4 separate regions of the Homo sapiens genome follow, and all the other regions are linked to region 4. Evidence: promoter capture Hi-C in 16 types of primary human blood cells and fetal thymus (Javierre and others, 2016). All regions are on one chromosome and are shown on one strand. Each heading gives the region's core, a stretch centred on a gene start or on the middle of the fragment in contact. The rest is flanking DNA. Distances are from core to core; before and after follow the strand shown.

Region 1 (4,491 bases), core at 1,825-4,324, 430 kb before region 4:
CAAGTGATTTGCCCACTTAGGCCTCCCAAAGTGCTGGGATCACAGGCATGAGCCACCATGCTCAGCCAGGAATATGGATTTTTAAGCAGCTCTTGAGGTAGTGGTGGTGGGCACTGAGTGGAGACCACTGCTCCAGAGTGGCGGGCAGCAATGGAGCCTCGAGCTCACAGCTCTGGAGTCTGCCAGATCGGGGTCCGGTCCCAGCTCCACTCTGACTGCAGGACATCTGTGATGTCCCCTTTCTAATCCTTGGGTCCTTGTCTGCAGAATGGTGATAATACCAGCCTCCTCAAGGGGTGCAGATAGAGAGCATGCTGTTCAGTACTGGGTAGCTGTTATTATTACTTTTATTGTTATTGGGAGGGAAGGAGGAGGAGGTGGCTGCTTTTGAGTTTTTTGTTTGTTTTATTTTTATTTTTTGAGACAGAATCTTGATCTGTCACCCAGGCTAGAGTACAGTGGCACGATCATGGCTCACTGTAACCTCTGCCTCCTGGTTTCAAAAGATTCTCCGGCCTCAGCCTCCCGAGTGGCCGGGACTACAGGCGTGCGCCACCACACCTGGCTAATTTTTGTATTTTTTGTAGACATGTGATTTCACCATGTTGGCCAGGCTGGTCTCGAACTCCTGACCTCAAGTGATCCACCCACCTCGGCCTCCCAAAGTCCTGGGATTATAGGTGTGAGCCACTGCGCCTGGTCTGCTTTTGAGTTTTTTGATTGCTGTGGAAATGCCTCTCAATACACAGTATGGGCGAGGTGCCCTTCTCCCTACACGCAGGGAAACCTGCGCCCCAGAATCAGGGCCTCATCAGAGCTGGAGACTCACCCAGGGCCTAGGGGTGTGGCTTGGAATGTCTATGGGGTGGGGTGGGCCGGGTGGTTACCCCTGTGGGAGGAGGGTTGGGGATGCACGGCAAGGATGGGCACGACAGGACCCCCAACCCTGCTCTAGAGAGCCCTCCAGGCCCCCTGGGCTGGGGGACCGGCTTTCTCCTTCTGCCTGGCCATTTGACTGTTGCGCAGTGCAGCTCCTTGTGATGCATTAGCTTGTCTGTTTCCTCTTTGGGCCGAGTCCTCTGAGCAGGGCCCTCTGTCTACTCTTTACCCTCTGGCCAAAGCAGAGGGTTTCTGTCCTCCAGACCTGGCCTGCAGATCCGCCATGGGGGTGAAATTGGGACATGGGTGTGGCTGTGTTTACCTGCCCAGCACCCCACCCTCTCAGTCACCCTCAGGTCCCTTTTTGAAGTGGTCCCCTGTCCTTCAGGAGCACACCTGTCATCCCAGGCTGGCCAATCAGCACATGGTGAGCATGCAGTCATGTGACCCAAGGCAGGCCAGTGAGATGCAGGCCTGGGACCTGGGAGCAAAGAAAGGGGAAGGGAAGCTCTCTTTTTGCCAGGGAGCCTAGGCTGGTAGGATACAAGGTTGGAATTGCCAGGGTCAACTGTGTGGGCAGCCTGCGCAAGATGAAGCCAACACTAGACAGCAGAGCTGAGAAATTGACAGGGGATGGCGGGAGGGAGACATTGTTTGAACACCTGTGTATTAGTCCGTTCTCACATTGCTGTAAAGAAATACCTGAGACTGGGTAACTCATGAAGAAAAGAGGTTTAATTGGTGCACAGTTCTGTAGGCTGTACAGAAAGCATAGTGCTGGCATCTGCTTGGCTTCTGGAGAAACTTACAATCATGGCGGAAGGTGAAGGGGAAGCAGCCATGTCACATGGCCAGAAAAGGAGCAAGAGAGAGAGAGAGAGGGGAGGTGCCACACACTTCTAAACAACCACATCTCATGAGAACTCACTCAGTATCACAAGAACAGCACTAAGAGGACGGTGCTAAACCACTCATGAGAAACCCATCCCCACGATCCAGCCACCTCCCACCAGGCCCCACCGCCATCATTGGGGTTGACAATTCAACGGGAAATTTGGGTGGGGACACAGATCCACACTATATCAACCCGGATCCAGCCTTGCCTGACACGGTCTATCCCTTTTGGCTTAGGACAATTTGAGTTGGCTTTCTGTCCTTGCGACTAGTTCTGATGAATGCAGAAAGCTTATTTCACCCATATGTCTGTCCTTCTGTCTACCTATCCATCCCATATTTACTGAACACCTGCTCCGTACCAGCCCCTGTTCTGGGGCCTGGCCCCAGCCCTCCGTTTGAAGGGACAGGTGACAAAGTGACGAGCCTTTTAGAGCATGGGACACTAGGAGCTGCTGCAGAGGTGAGCCCTGGTGGCTGTGGCTGTGAGAGTCTTTGTGTTGTGGGGAAGGGGAATCCAGGCAGGCTTTGTGGAGGAGGTGATCTCTGGGGTGGCCTTGGAGGCATAGGCAGGATTTTACTAGTTTGGGAGTCTGGGAGGGGATCTTTCAGAGCAGAAGGCATCAAAAAGACAGGTAGAAAAGACCAGGAACACTGGAACCCGGCTGCCTGGGGTGGAGGGGTTGGGATTTTATAAACGGTTGGGTCTATATAATAGTCATACCTGCTCACTGCCACTACTGGTCATAAAGAACCAACATCTGTTGAGAAGCACCACGCTAGCACTTGATGTTTATTTTCTCATTAATTCTCTCCACCTCCCTTGAGGGGATTCATGGGTACTATCTTCATTTTGCAGGTGAGGAGGAGATGGAGACTCAGAGAGGTGGCGGCCTTCTCAAGGTTTTGCAAACACGCATGTGGCCCAGCAAGTCTCTCTGACTTTGACCCCAAGTTCTTTTTTGAAAAAAATTAAGTTAATTATTTTTTAGAGACAGGGTCTCTGTCACCCAGGCTGGAGGGGAGTGCAGTGGTGTGATCATAGCTCACTGCAGCCTTGACCTCTGAACTCAAGTGATCCTTCCACTTCAGCTTTCAGAACATCTGGGACTATGGGCATGCGGCTCCATGCCCGACTTTTTTTTTTTTTGTTAGCGATGAGGCCTCACTTTGTTGCCCAGGCTGATCTCGAACTCCTGGACTCAAACAATCCTCCCACCTCAGCCTCTCAAAGTGCTGGGATTATAGGCGTGAACCACCTTGCCGGGCTTGACTCCAAGTTCTTAACTGCTCAGGCCCACACAGGCCCTTTTGCAGCTCTGCATCTCTGGCCACGCCTTGGAGGAGGTTGAGGTGGAGGCCACAGAAGCAGCCCTGGAGAGTTCTGGAGTTTCCATTGCTGGGGGCCATAGAAAGAGGCTTGCCCTGTAGGCTCCCAGGATCAGCTTGGAGTCTGTCACGTTGATCGCTGTGGGACCCTCCCACCCCCTGCTCTCCTCCAGCCTGGCCCCTCCCACTTCCTGTCTTCCCCACAGCCGCCCCTGTGATGGAACATTTGAGGGTACATCTGCCCAGGCCTCTCTGTTGCTGAACGGCCTGGAATGGCTCCCTATTGCCCTTGGGTAAAGTTCAGACCCTTCCCCTTGGCCTGCAGGCTCTACCTTCTCCTGTCCGGCCTGCCTCTCAGCCTCTTCTCTGGAGCCCAGCCTCCTGCGGAACCATGGCCACCCTCCCCCTGAGTCCCTGGGAGCCACACCCCTTTCAGCATTTCTTTCTTACTCTCTAGGAGCCGGCTCAGGTGTCTCTCCCTCCAGGAAGTGGGGCTTGTGCCCTTTGGATACCTGCACTCCCCATCACCGCACTCCCCATCGTGGCACTTCCCTTGTTGCAGTTTTATGGAGTGTGCGTCTGGCTCTCCAACTAGACTTGAACCGCTTGAGTGCATAACTCGGGACTTGACCATTTGCGTCTCCCTACGGCCAGCTCAGCCTCCGCACACAGGGACCTGCAGAGAGTGGATGTAGCCACTGCCCCAGCGTCCCTGGGCTCTGAAGAGAAGCCATTGCCCTTCAAGAGCCACCCTCATTTCCTGGGCACTGGTTGGAAAAAACGAAGAAAAAGAGACACCCAGCTCACCTCCAAGTTTGCCTGCAGGTGAATATCTTGTTGAAAGAGAGGGGACTCCCTGAGTCTTGCTGGGTTGAGGAAGCTGATTGGATTTCCGGACTCAGAGGAGGGCTGCAGAGAGGGAGGAATGGGGGGGATGGGCAGCTGGCTTTCTGGATGGGTGCAGGACAATGACATTGATGGGGAAGCTTGGGGTGGCTCTGCCGTTGCCCACTGCTTGGCTGGTGAACTTGCTACATCTTGGCCAGCACTATCCTCTTCTGGCCTGCACCCTGCCAGACACAGGCAGTACCCCAAATACCCTGTCCCTGTGCCCCGAAGTCTCCATGACCTTCAGATCCCAAGGGACAAGTGGCTCCACGAGGCAGGGCCTGTCCCTCTGGCTCACACTATGGAGTCCACAGAACCTAGCCCGGAGCCTAGTGCACAGTAGGTGCTCAATGTATTCTATTTGAATGTTGCATGAGTGAATAAATGCAGGAATGTCAGGCTGGAAAACAGGTATTTGTACACCTGTTTTCATAGCAGTGTTATTCACAGTAGTCAAAGGGTGGAAGCATCCCACGTGTCTGCTGATGGGTGAACGAGTAA
Region 2 (4,597 bases), core at 2,031-4,530, 480 kb before region 4:
AAAAAAAAAAAACCCTAACATTACTGAACCACAAAAGAAAAAGTAGTGGCGGGTCAGTTTTAACCTTGCTTTATGTTTTTCGTATTTGATTTTTAAATCTTTCTACCATATCCACATACTACTTTTGTAATAAGAAAAAAAAAGAAAGGAAACTGAATAAAAAGATCTCCCCGCTAACAAGCGCCGGAGGATGGTGCATCTTGGGCAGAGAGGAGGGGGCTTGTCCTTCTAGTCAGGAGGGAGAGGAAGGAGAGGGGCCTTGCTCACATCTGTTGGGATAAAGGAAGGGGAGGTGAGTTCTTGGTAGGTGCTTTGGCCCAGAGACCCCCTGAGAGGGAGTGGGCAGTCGGGGCTGGGGGATTCAGGGAGTGAGAGGTATTGGGGAAAAGTGTTTGAGAGTCCATGTGAGCTGGACCCAGGGAGAGGAGGCAGCCTAGATCCTGATTCCTCAGGGGGCCTTTGGACTGGGGAGAGTTGTGGCCAGCAGTTCCCTGGCGGGCATCTGCAGCCTTCCTGGTGACCTCTGGGACCCAGCTTCTGTTCTCAGGACCCCAGCACATGTGAGTTGGATCCAGAATTCAGTCCCAAAGTTGAGGTGCTCTTTCTCCTGCCTGGGCCCTGGATGGGGGGTTTGGTGGTTAAGAACCAAGGGACGAACGGTTCAATTTCTCTCAGTGCTTGTGATGCTGCTGGGAGTATTTTCCTGAATCCCAGTGAAGAGGCGAAGCCCCTGATGGGTCCAGCTTCATCCACCATCCTCCCCTGAGCAGGTGACATCAAGGGATACCTGGGACAACACCCAGGAGTAGACGGACCTGTGAGGATGGGGCTCAGAGCTGCGGCGATGAGACGTACTCCACAGTGGCTGGGGCTCTGGGAGGCTTCCTCTCCTGGCAGGGCAGCTGGCTGTATCCCCAGTTCTGGCCCCGAGGCCGGGCCTTTGCTGGCCTGTAGTGAGATCTCCCAGTCTGAGCCTGGACAGATTTCTTGACCCTTGTTATTTACATGAGACAAAGTTGGGGCTTTTCAAAAGGGACACTGCAAAGGCAGGCCGAGTGCAGCACCTCATCTCCAGGTAACTGGACCCAGCCCCGGGCAGGACAGGCAGGTGGGCGGGCTGCGGACGGAACAGCCTGCTCCTGCTCCCCACCTCTGCTTGGTGAGATTGGGCCTGGCCCTTGCTGGGCTGACGGACTGCGCACACCCTCTAGAGCCAGCTCCTGCCCTCTGCAAGGGGTGGGGAGCGTGGTGGCCAAGGTGTGCGTGGGCTCTGGAGTGGCTCTTGCATTTCCCTCTGTGTGACCTTGAGCCATGACTGAACCCCTCTGAGCCTCAGTTTCCTTACGTATAAACAAGGTAAGTAAACATGGCCTTACAGGGTGGATGTACCAGACACCGAACGGACACAGCCCAGGGCTTTGCTGGCACCGTCTCATTGAATCTCCGCAGGCCACCCTGCGAGGTGGGCATGTGGCAACCGAGCCATGGGGGAATTCCTTGGTGGTAAGTGGGTTTCAAACCTGGGCCATCAGGCTCCAGCGTGGACATTTCTTTCTTTCTTTCTTTCTTTTTTTTTTCTTTGAGACAAGAGTCTTGCTGTGTCATCCAGGCTGGAGTGCAGTGGTGCCATCTCTGCTCACTGCAACCCCCAACTCCTGGATTCAAGCGATTCTCCTGCTTTAGCCTCCCAAGTAGCCAAGATTACTGGTGTGCACCACCACACCCGGCTAATTTTGTATTTTTAGTAGAGACGGGGTTTCACCATGTTGGCCAGGCTGGTCTCGAACTCCTAACCTCAGGTGATCCACCCACCTTGGCCTCCCAAAGTGCTGGGATTACAGGCATGAGCCACTGTGCCCAGCTCAGTGTGGACATTTCTACCCACTGAGCCCAATAATGGCTGTGAATCTGTCCCACGAACGTTTACTGAGCACTTGCTCTGCCAGGCTCCAAGGAGACCCCAAGGACCATGGAGGAGGCAGATGCGGTTCCGTCCCTCATGGAGGTTTAAGGAGGACACGGGGCATGTGGGGAGCTGTGGGAATGTCGTGGACAGGGTGGAGAGCCTTCCTTGAAGGCAGGATGAGGGCTCCGGCAGCAAGGCTGGGAGGTGTGCTGGGTGTCTGGAGCTGGGGCGGTCGTTCCCTTGCTGGCTACTGGCCCCAGGCCTGGCTTCTGCCCGGACTGTGGTGGCCTGGCCATTCCTTCAGGAGTGGCTCCTGCCCTACTCCATGCAAATTCCTGGTCCCCATGTCTCAGTTGCCACTGCTGCTCCAGGCCCCAGCAGCTGTCTGCCCCCTGATGTCTGGGGGTTCCCGCAGCGAGCCTGGAGCTTGTGGCTCCTGCATGCGGCCTATGTGTCTGGCCCTGAGCTAAGTGCTTCGAAGCTTCTCTTGCCTCATCCTCACAATGGGCGCTGATGTCCTCATTTCACAGAAGGGTCTGGGGTCTCTTTCCCGCCAAAGCTCGTGCTCCTGCAGCCTCTCCACGGGGCCTGACCTGAGGGCTCGGGTGGCATGGGCTGCCGTGTGCTGCCTGTCCCCACTGTGGTGGCCTGAGAGCCCTCCTCCACTCCACTTCACTCTACCCCCTCCCCCTCCTCCTCCTCTTCCTCCTGCTCCTGCACCCATCTCTCCAGGACTGGCCCCAGACCCTGGGCTTCTCTGAGAGGCACCTCTTCCAAGGGCCCAGTTTCTTTTTGGAGGCAGGGCCGATTTGCACAAAGATGACGAAGACGCATGACAGCAATGACTCTCTGGCTGGTAGCGTGCCTCTTGGTGTGTGCAGATTGTGCTTTATGTGTCACCTCGTGGAGTCCCCACAGTGAGCCGAGAAGGTGGCATCACATTCCCAGTCAAGGGCTTTTGGTGGTGGGGCTCAGATCTTAGTGGCGTCCCAGGGCCTCCAGCTTGTCCAAGTGGGTTCAGGGTGGTGCCCAGGTTTGTCTGACACCAGGTCCTACAAAGGCCAGCATGGTGGGGTACCCGGAGCTGGGCAAGGGAAAGATTGGCTATGGCCACGTGGCTCCTTGTTCTCCCCAAGGCAGTCTGTCTCTGCGGACAGCCATCAGGCCCCAAATCCAGGCGTCATCCTTTTTATTTTTTGAGACAGGATCTTGCTCTGTCACCCAGGCTGGAGTGCAGTGGCTCGATTTCAGCTCACTGCAAACTTTGCCTCCCAGGTTCAAGTGATTCTCCTGGCTCAGCCTCCCTAGTAGCTAGGATTATAGGCCTGCACCACCACGCCTGGCTAATTTTGTATTTTTAGTAGAGACCGGGTTTCACCATGTTGGCCAGGCTGGTCTCCAACTCCTGGCCTCAAGTGATCCACCTGCCTCAGCATCCCAAAGTCCTGAGATTATAGGAGTGAGTCACCGTGCCTGGCCCAGGTGTTATCTTTTTTATTTTTATTTTTTGAGACAGAGTCTTGCTCTGTCGTCCAGGCTGGTGCAGTGGCACAATCATAGCTCACTGCAGCCTTGGCCTCGTTTACCCTCTATTGCTTGAGAGTTTACTCTCCTGGGTCCACACCTGGGACTACAGGTGTGCACCATTATGCCCAGCTAAATTTAAGAAACTTTTTTTCTGTAGAGACAGGGTTTCCCTATGTTGCCCAGGCTGGTCTCAAACTCCTGAGCACAAGTGATCCTCGTGCCTCGGCCTCTCAAAGTGCTGGGATTATTACAGGTATGAGCTACCATACCTGGTGCAGGTGTTATCCTGAATTCCTTTCTTTTCCTCTACCTCTCAAATCCAACCCATGAGCAGGTCCTATTGGGTCTCCCTCCAAATTGTAACCCAAATCTGCCCGCAGCCAGGGAGCACGGTCAGCTCTCCCAGGAGCGCTGGCCAGCAGCATCTCCTCTCTGCTCTCCTGACTCCACTCTGCCACTGTCCCTGGGCTCTACCCTGAGGTGCTTAAAGGTGATTCTACCCTGAGGTGCTTGAAGGTCACTCCCATCAGATCCCTACTTGAAGGGTGGCTCCTGACTGTGCACAGAAGGCCCCACGAGGTGATGAGCCACTGTGCCCCCGCCCCACTCGCCCACTCCCGTACTTCAGTCATGTTGCCCTCTCTCTGGTCCTCCAGAATGTCTTTTTTTTGTTTGTTTTTGAGACAGAGTCTCGCTCTGTCACCCAGGCTGGAGTGCAGTGGCGCGATCTCGGCTCACTGCAAGCTTCGCCTCCCGGGTTCACACCATTCTCCTGCCTCAGCCTCCCGAGTAGCTGGGACTACAGGCGTCCGCCACCACACCCGGCTAATTTTTTTGTATTTTTAGTAGAGACGGGGTTTCACCGTGTTAGCCAGGATGGTCTCGATCTCCTGACCTTGTGATCTGCCCGCCTTGGCCTCTCAAAGTGCTGGGATTACAGGTGTGAGCCACCATGCCCTGCCTGGTCCTCCAAAATGTCAAACTTGTTGCTGCCCCAGGGCCTTGGCACTTGCTGTTTCCTTGGCTTGCACTGCTTGAGCCCAGGCTGAGCAGAGGCACCCTCTGGTTGTTCAGGGCCCAGTTCAGATGCCACCTCCCGAGAGAGGCGTCCCAGCTTTCTTTTTTTTCTTTTTTTTTTTTGAGATGGAGTCTCGCTCTGTCCCC
Region 3 (4,271 bases), core at 1,166-3,665, 510 kb before region 4:
TTCACATAGAGCAGAGGGGAGGACTCAGGACCCAGTGAAGTGCTGTTCCCAAGAGACGCCCGGGCCTGCCTCTGGACTCTTAAGATGGTACATGATCTTTTTTTTTTTTTTTTCCTGTTGTTCAGGCTGGAGTGCAGTGGCATGATCTCAGCTCCCTGCAGCCTTGACCTCCTGGGCTCAAGCAATCGTCCTGCCTCAGCCTCCCAAGTTGCTGGGACTACAGCATGCGCCACCATGCTTGGCTAATTTTTGTGTTTTTAGTAGAGACGGGGTTTCATCATGTTGGCCAGGCTGATCTCGAAATCCTGGCCTCAGGTGATCCGCCCACCTTGGCCTCCTAAAGTGTTGGAATTACAGGTGTGAGCCACTGCTCCCAGCCTTAAGTTATATCTTAAAGCTGACAAATCATAGCTTTACAGCTTGATGGATTTTTACATGTTTTTACTCATGGACTCACCACTCATGCCAAGTTTTTTACCCATGGATTCACCACTCATGTCAAGCAATAGAACATTCTAGCTGGAGTGCTCCCCTTCCCAATTGATATCGCCCAGATTATTCTGATTTCTATTCCATAAATTGATTTTTTTCCATGTTTCTGAACTTCGTATAACTCTCTGGCTTCTTTTGCTCAATGTCATGTCTGAGATTCATCCATGTTTTCATGTCTAGCTATAGGTCTTTTTCTTTGCTGTGTAGTATTCTATTGTATGAATATACCACAATTTATTCATTTCACTGTTGATGGACATTTCCATTGCATTTCCACCTTTTGGCTACTCTAAACAGTGCTGTTGTGAACATTCTTCTGCACGTCTTTTGATGGCACATGACACCAGCTCTTGCTGACCTGAGAGTGTGAAGGAAGGTGGCCTGTGTGGGAATCATAGCACTGACCTTCCAGAGTCTCTGTGGGGCTCCAGTGAGTTACCACATGGGAGGGTTGAGGCTTTTTTCCAGATTCCTCCTGTTTTGCCCCTAGACTCCTGTGCCCTGGAAAAATCAGTTGATGATAAGTCGCCTGGGTAGTCTTCTGCTGTGGAAGAATAAATGCTGTCCCTCCCCTTCCTTCTGTGGCCTGTCAGAACAGGAACCAAGCTGGCCTGGCAAGGCAGTGTGGGCCCCCAGTCAGGTGCTGCCCCTGGGCACCTGCCCACTGGGATGCTGCTTAATATGCTGCCACCACTTTGTGTCTCTTGTGTTACCAGGAAGCAGAAAACTTGGTGGCCACAGTGGTCCCTACCCATCTGGCAGCTGCTGTGCCTGAGGTGGCTGTTTACCTAAAGGAGTCAGTGGGGAACTCCACGCGCATTGACTACGGCACAGGTATCTGCTGCTTGTGGGGCTCTGTACTTATCTAGCTTCACTGCTTTCTGTTTTGGGCTTCAGGTGGTCTCTGGGCCCTCTGAGCAAGTGAGAGCAATCAAGAATTCGCCAAGCACCTGCAACCTATTGGGGCCAGCTGGGGTTAGGGTGGCTTCACCGGCAGGGAGGGCGTAGGCATGCAGGGAGGCCCGGATGCTGCAGCTCTGCTGTGGTCCACCAGGGGGAGCTGATGCCCCGTGCATGGTGCTTGCGCAGCGCTGCTTTCTGTTCTTGTGAAAATGGTCTCTGAGCTCCTCATCATCACCAAAATAATTATTAATTGAGCACTTACTGTGTGTCAAGGCAGCAGCTTACTGAAGCTTTGAGAAATGGGAACGCTTCTTGGTGGCCTTTGCAGTGTCGTGGCACACCCTCTCCCTTGAACCCCTTGTCTCTTAGCCACATTCTCTGTGCTATTGGGCTGTTTGGATCTGTGGTCCATGTAAGCCAAGGGACCTGGACTTTGAGGAGAGGGAGTGTGTGGACACTTTAAAAGGGAAGTGTAGACAGGTGCAGTGGTGCGTGCCTGTAATCCTAGCACTTTTGGAGGCTGAGGGGGAGGATTGCCTGAGCTCAGGAGTTTAAGACCAGCCTAGGCAACGTAGCAAGACTCCATCTCTTTTTTAAAAATTTATTTTAAGTTATTTTTATTTATATATTTATTTTTTTGAGACAGGGTCTTGCTTTGTCACCCGGGCTGCAGTGCAGTGATGTGATCTTGGCCCACTGCAGCCTTGACCTCCCGGGCCCAAGTGATCCTCTCACCTCTGCATCTCCCCACTCCCCAGTACCTGGGACTACAGGTGTGCACCACCAGCCTGGCAATTTATTTATTTATTTGAGACAGAGTCTCACTCTGTTGCCCAGGCTGGAGTGCAGTGGCATGATCTTGGCTCACTGCAACCTCCACCTCCTGGGTTCAAGCGATTATTCTGCTGGGACTATAGGCACACACCACCATACCTGGCTAATTTTAGTGTTTTTGGTAGAGACAGGGTTTCACCATGTTGGCCAGGCTGGTCTCGAACTCCTGACCTCTGGTGAGGTCACTTCTCCACCCACCTTGGCCTCCCAAAGTGCTGGGACTGGGATTACAGGCGTGAGCCACTGCGCCCAGCTGATTGTTTTGTATTTTTTGTAGAGATGGGGTTTTGCCATGTTGCCTGGGCTGGTCTTGAACTCCTGAGCTCAAGCTGTTCTCCCACCTCAGCCTCCCAAAGTGCTCAGATTACAGGTGCAAGCCACCATGCTGAGACCCCATCTCTCAAAAATATAAAAGGGAGGTGTTCTCTAGGTCAGGGCATGGCCTGTGGAGCCACCATGCTGAGACCCCATCTCTCAAAAATATAGAAGGGAGGCATTCTCTGTGTCAGGGCACGGCCTGTCGAGCCACCATGCTGAGACCCCATCTCTCAAAAATAGAGAAGGGAGGCGTTCTCTAGGTCAGGGCCTGGCCTGTGCAGCTAAGGAGGACCTCTGCTTTGGTGAGGGCCCGCCTTCCTTCCCTGAGGCAGGCAGATGGGGCACCGCTCAGCCCTCCCCTTGTCTGGGGAATGTGATCCACAGGAGGGAGCCCCAGCCACAGAGGCAGGCCCTGGAGAAGGGCCCTCTTGGACCGGGTGGGGCTTTGACTAAGACCAGCAGGAAAAGATCAAAGAGGGAAGACTGGCCAGGTCAGCAGGGGTTGGTGCCCCAGCTGCATGTGAACCCCTGAACAATGGGAGCCTGGGCCCTGTCTGGTCATAATTGGAAACTGTGGCAGGGGAAGGAAACTGAGCTCACAAGCTTCCAGGCCCTGGAGGGGTCTTCGTCCTCCAGAGACAGGACAGAAGTATTCTCTGACACATTCTCTTCTCACCTCCCTCCAGATAGGTTTTGTGTGACATTGTGAACAATGGGATTCAATCACAGTCCAGTGAGTTGTTCCTACAGTGCAGACCATTCCTGTTTGATATGACTGGGAAAGGAAGGAGGATACTTTTTCACCCTGTAATCTGATCATGTGTTCCCTGCTTAGAAGCCTGCAGTGGCTCCCTATTGCTCTTAGGGTAAAGTCTGAGCTCTTTCCTATGGCCAAAAGGCCCATGTGACCTGTAGCCTCCTGTCATTACACGTTCTCCCTTGCTCTCACTGCCTTCGACATACTGGCCTCCTTAGTGTTCCTCAAACAGATCAAACTTTTTCTTGCCTCAAGGCCTGTGCACATGCTATTCCTTCTGGCTAGAATGCATTTCTTGCTTCCCTCACTCCCTTTGCCTTGCCAGCTCACATCTTTCAGATTTCAGATTAGATGTTACTTCCTTAGGGGAAACCTTGAACCCTTACGTCAGGGTCCTTCTGTGATATCCTCCAGTTAGTACCCTGTCTTTCTCCTTCAGAGCTGGAATCATAGTAGTGACTGTATATTTATAATGTCTGTTGTCCCTGATAGATCATAAACTTTCTGAGGGCAAGGACTTACTTGTCACTGTCTCCTAGTGCGTAACATGGACAGTGACTGCTTACATAGTAGGTGCTCAGTAAATATGGTGGAATTGCTGAGTGAGTTAAACCTACGTAATGAAATGTAAATGTCCAGCCCGGGTCTTTTACGAGTGGAATTATAGTACTGGTAGTTCTTTTTTTTTTTTTTTTTTTTTTTTTTTTGAGACAGTCTCACTTTGTCACCCAGGCTGGAGTGCAGTGGCCTTATCATGGCTCACTGCAGCCTCAACCTCCTGGGCTCAGGAGATCCTCCATCTCAGCCTCCTGAGTAGTTGGGACCACAGGCACATGCCACCATGTCTGGCTAATTTTTGTATTTTTTGTAGAGACAGGGTTTTGCCATGTTGGCCAGGCTGATCTCAAACTCCTGAGCTCAAGCAAGCTGCCTGCCTCAGCCTCCTGAAGTGCTGGGATTACAGGCA
Region 4 (4,116 bases), core at 110-2,609:
TGGGCTTTAGTCCTGCTATCATCATCAGCAAGCAGGGCCCTGGCTCTGTGGGTCACAGGGGCTTGGGGGAAGCTCTGAAGTAGAGAGAGGGCCACGCTGCATCTCTTAATACGGGAGCAGACTGGGATTTGCGGAGAATGGGCTGGGTCTGTCTGCGCTCTCCTCCCGCGTTGCCCAGAGTCCGGTCGCAGACTTAGGTACAAAGCCTCACACACCTGGGCTGCTGGGACTGAAGGGACCACCAGCCTGGAGGCCAAGAGCCCAAGCCCGACTTTGATGCTTCTTCCTCAGAAAGCCCTTCCATCCTCAAACCCGCAGGACCCCAGCCCCGGCAACACCTGCAGCCAGGACAGCAACACAGCCTCCTCCCTCCCCTCACATTGAGACCTTCAGCTGATATTGATGAAGAAAGCCTACGTTTCCACCAGAGTCCCTGGATGGCGAGACTCATCATTACCACGTGTTGGAAATACCAACTGACAACCCCCTCAACACCTGAGCCGAGCCCCTTCCTTCTGCTCTCCCCTCCCTTCCACCTCGCGTGCCGCCGTACAATTACTTGTCAGTCTCTCCTCTGGAGCACATGCGCCAAGAAGGCGGGGGTTTTGCTGAGCCACTGATGGACCCCAGGTGCCTAGTACCATGGGCAGTGAATGCAGATTCGCTCCCGACCCCTTTCCTGCAGGTCCACGACAGACCAGCTCTTGTCTATAAAAACGCAAACTCTGCTACAAAAGCCCACCTTCACACTGCTCTGGGGTAACATCTGAGGCCTCACGGATTCCACCCTGCTCCTCTGCCACGCCGGGGGGTGGCACAGGACAGGCAGGCGACAGGGTGGGGCTGAGGCGCAGGCCCTGCGACAACCCGCGGGCCTCCGCCCTCGGGCCCTCCCCGCCCTTCGTCTCCGCCATGCAAGGGGCAGGAGTGGGATCCGCGCGGGGCAGCGCGCACTCCGAGCCACGCAACCCCGGCTTCCGCCCGTCCCTTCCTCTGTCAAGGGGGACGCATCCACCCCGCCCGGCTTGTGGTGATAAAGTGGGACGCTGCGGGGTCGGAGCGGCCTCGGCCAGCTCACGGGAGGGGGTGAGTTACCGGTCCAGAGACTCCTGCCGCTCGGGGTCCTGGATCCCCAGGGAGCCCAGAATCGCATCCACCAGCGGCTGGTACTCGAAGATGATCCTCCGGAAGCCGTGCAGGAACGGCATCGCCGCGGGCCCCGCGCAGCAGGGCCGTCGCGCTTTCTGCCGAGGCCGAGATGCCCAGACGCCGACCGGAACGCTCCGGCGGCCGCGGACCCCACCTGCTCCGCCAGTCCAGCCCCTGCGCCCGGCCGGGTCCGCTCCTCAGTCCAAGCCGCGCCCCCGCCGGAAGTGACCCTCGTACTTCCTGCCCGCGCCGACTCAGGGTGGGCCATATGGCGACAGCGCCCCCTGCGGGCTCGGAGGACCTCGGCGCGTCCTGGGGCACGACCGCCAGGCCGACTCGGGCGATGTCCAGTGGGCGGCCCCAGCGGAGTGGGAGAGTGGAGGATCGAGCCAAGCCAGATCCGAGACTCAGGCGGGTCCGCCCCTTCCTGCCAGGGCCCGGCCCGGCTCGGCTTCGCCCTGCGATCCCGCCCGCGACCGCTGGGCGCCGTCCGAGTTCCGCCGGTCGTGCTCTCGGCCCTGCCGCTGCCCCACTGGCCCTGGGCGCCCCTGAGAGCTGTGGTCATCAGACACTGCCCCTTCCGGTTCGGGCTGGCCCTCGCCTTCCCTGAAGAGGGGCTGGGCCACCTCTGTCACCACCCGGCCCGCTGACTGGAATGATGAGGACCAGGGTACTCGCACGTCCCCTCCTCAGTTTCTTATTCTCTGTCCCGGGGAGCACCTGGCCAGGACGGCTGCTAGCCCTCTCCACCTCTGCCTTGATGGACTCAGTGAATCTTGTTTTTTGTTGTTGTTGTTTTTGTTTTTTTGGGGGACGTAGTCTCGCTCTGTTGCCCAGGCTGGAGTGCAATGGCACGATCTCGGCTCACTGCAACCTCCGCCTCCCGGGTTCAAGCGATTCTCCTGCCTCAGCCTCCCGAGTAGCTGGGATTACAGGCGCTGGCCACCACGCCCAGCTTATTCTTGTATTTTTAGTAGAGACAGGGTTTCACCATATTGGCCAGGCTGGTCTCGAACTCCTGACCTCGTGATCCTCCCACCTCGGCCTCCCAAAGTGCTGGGATTACAGGCATGAGCCACGGTGCCCAGCCCGAATCTTGTGTATTTTTTAGAGACAGGGTCTCACTCTGTCTCCCAGGCTGGAGTGTAGTGTAGTGATCATGACTCACTGCAGCTTTGAACCCCTGGGCTCAGGTGATCCTCCCGCCTCAGCCTCCCGAGAAGCTGGGAACACAGGAGTGTGCTACCGCCTGTCTCTGAACTTGGATTTCCTCATCTGTAAAATGGGTAGAATCCCCAGCACTTTGAGAGGCCGAGGCAGGTGGATCACCTGAGGTCAGAAGTTCGAAGCTGCAGACCGGCCTGGCCAATATGATGAAACCCTGTCTCTACTAAAAATACAAAAATTACCCGGGCGTGGTGGCAGGCGCCTGTAATCCCAGCTACTTGGGAGGCTGAGGCAGGAGAATTGCTTGAACCCGGGAGGCGGAGGTTGCAGTGAGTGGAGATCGCACCATCACACTCCAGCCTGGGCAATAAGAACGAAACTCTGTCTCAAAAAGAAAAAAAAAAAGTATAATCACACTCACCTGAGATGCTGGAGCCAGCGCACTGTAATTGTTGGTGGAAGTGGAATTCAGTGGGAAGGAGCCAAAACCCTCTGGTTCAGGAAGAAGGGGCGGAGTGGGCAGCCGGGTTTAAGCCCCTTTAGGGCAACACCAGCTTGGGCTTCCTAGAAGCAGCTCCAGGCCGCAGAGTCCACAGCTGCCAGCACGTTTCTGCCTTGGTTCTCGCTGTAGGAAAGAAATTTCTCCCTGGGTGAAATCGGGAAATTCTGCTCACATGGAAATGGACATTTCCAGCTTGCCTTGGAAAAACCACTTTTCTGGAGTCGAGGCACCTCCCCTTGGGCCATGCATTTGAGCCTCCTCTCCCACCTGGAGTCTGCGTGGGGGGGCCTTGATGCCTTCTTGCTTCTGGGAAGCTGATGATGAAGAGGGGTTTCCCGCCCCAGCAGTCCACATCACAGCGTTGGCCTCCTGGGCCTTGCTCTGCCAAGTTGGGCCCCTCTCCCTGGAACCTGCCAGACAGCGAGAGTTGCCCAGCCCAGGAAAAAAACATTTAAAGGCGCATTTCAAGACAATCCGATGGGTCTTAGAGTAAACATTTTTATATTTATTTATTTATTATTATTATTATTATTATTTTTCAGACGGAGTCTCACTCTGTTGCCTAAGCTGGAGTGCAGTGGCAGGATCTCGGCTCACTGCAACCTCCAACCCCTGGGTTCAAGCCTACCAGGTAGCTGGAATTACAGGCATGCGCTACCACGCCAGGCTAATTTTTGTATTTTTAGTAGAGACGGGGTTTCACCATGTTGGCCAGGCTATTCTCGAACTCCTGACCTCAGGTGATCCACCCGCCTCAGCCTCCCAAAGTACTGGGCTTACAGACGTGAGCCCACCACGCCCAGCCAGATGAAACATTTTTAAATGGGCAGAGTAAGGCCCTCTACCATGTGCAAAACAAACTGTACAAGAAAACCCAAAGCAACGAGCCTCAACCGGCAAGGTTGAGGGTGTGGCAGCAGCGGCTGGTAACTGCTGGCTCTGGTTGTTAAAGCTGTTGTCAGATCCAATGACAGGCTCTCGGAAAACCACCTCCGACGCCAGGCATTCAGAGTGCCTCAGTTTGCTTCCTCTTCCATTACCTAAAGGAGTAGGAAGGAGGGGTGGGGGTGGGCAGCTGGGTTCAAGACCCTTTAAGGCAACACTAGCTTGGGCGTCCCAGAAGCAACTGCAGACTACGAGGGCCCACGGCTCCCCACACATGTCTGCCTTGATTCTTGCTGAGGGAAAGAAGTATCTTCCTGAGGGAAATCGGGACATTTTGCTCCCAGGGAAATGGAGATTTTCCAACTTGCCTTGTAAAAATCAGAAGGGCCCAGATTCTTACCAGACAGCGATTT

Evidence for each region. Contacts are between HindIII fragments. The CHiCAGO score rates a contact against its expected background, and 5 or more counts as called.
Region 1: a fragment that was not itself captured here is called in contact with the fragment with the promoter of ASB6 in region 4 in 2 of 17 cell types (neutrophils and monocytes); the score reaches 8.0 in neutrophils.
Region 2: a fragment that was not itself captured here is called in contact with the fragment with the promoter of ASB6 in region 4 in 7 of 17 cell types (neutrophils, total CD8 T cells, naive CD4 T cells and 4 more); the score reaches 9.9 in neutrophils.
Region 3: a fragment that was not itself captured here is called in contact with the fragment with the promoter of ASB6 in region 4 in 15 of 17 cell types (activated CD4 T cells, naive CD4 T cells, total CD8 T cells and 12 more); the score reaches 14.9 in activated CD4 T cells.

Annotation. Positions count from the first base shown.
Region 1 is chr9:129,205,310-129,209,800 of GRCh38, forward strand. LOC105376289 (a long non-coding RNA gene) reads left to right here. Exons shown (of 2, transcript XR_007061813.1): 2 at 3,560-4,398. Among named protein-coding and RNA genes, the nearest start is that of IER5L-AS1, 29 kb to the right of the region's middle. The HindIII fragment of the contact is 2,024 bases long and covers 2,063-4,086 here.
Region 2 is chr9:129,154,156-129,158,752 of GRCh38, forward strand. No RefSeq gene overlaps it. Among named protein-coding and RNA genes, the nearest start is that of IER5L, 22 kb to the right of the region's middle. The HindIII fragment of the contact is 1,790 bases long and covers 2,386-4,175 here.
Region 3 is chr9:129,130,314-129,134,584 of GRCh38, forward strand. PTPA (protein phosphatase 2 phosphatase activator) reads left to right here. Exons shown (of 10, transcript NM_178000.3): 5 at 1,209-1,326. Among named protein-coding and RNA genes, the nearest start is that of PTPA, 21 kb to the left of the region's middle. RefSeq lists enhancers at 1,217-1,771, 2,865-3,365 and a silencer at 1,463-1,664. The HindIII fragment of the contact is 1,465 bases long and covers 1,684-3,148 here.
Region 4 is chr9:129,640,792-129,644,907 of GRCh38, forward strand. ASB6 (ankyrin repeat and SOCS box containing 6) reads right to left here and starts at 1,360. Exons shown (of 6, transcript NM_017873.4): 1 at 1,096-1,360. The coding sequence starts at 1,208. RefSeq lists an enhancer at 1-420 and a silencer at 1,127-1,726. The HindIII fragment of the contact is 16,646 bases long and covers 1-4,116 here.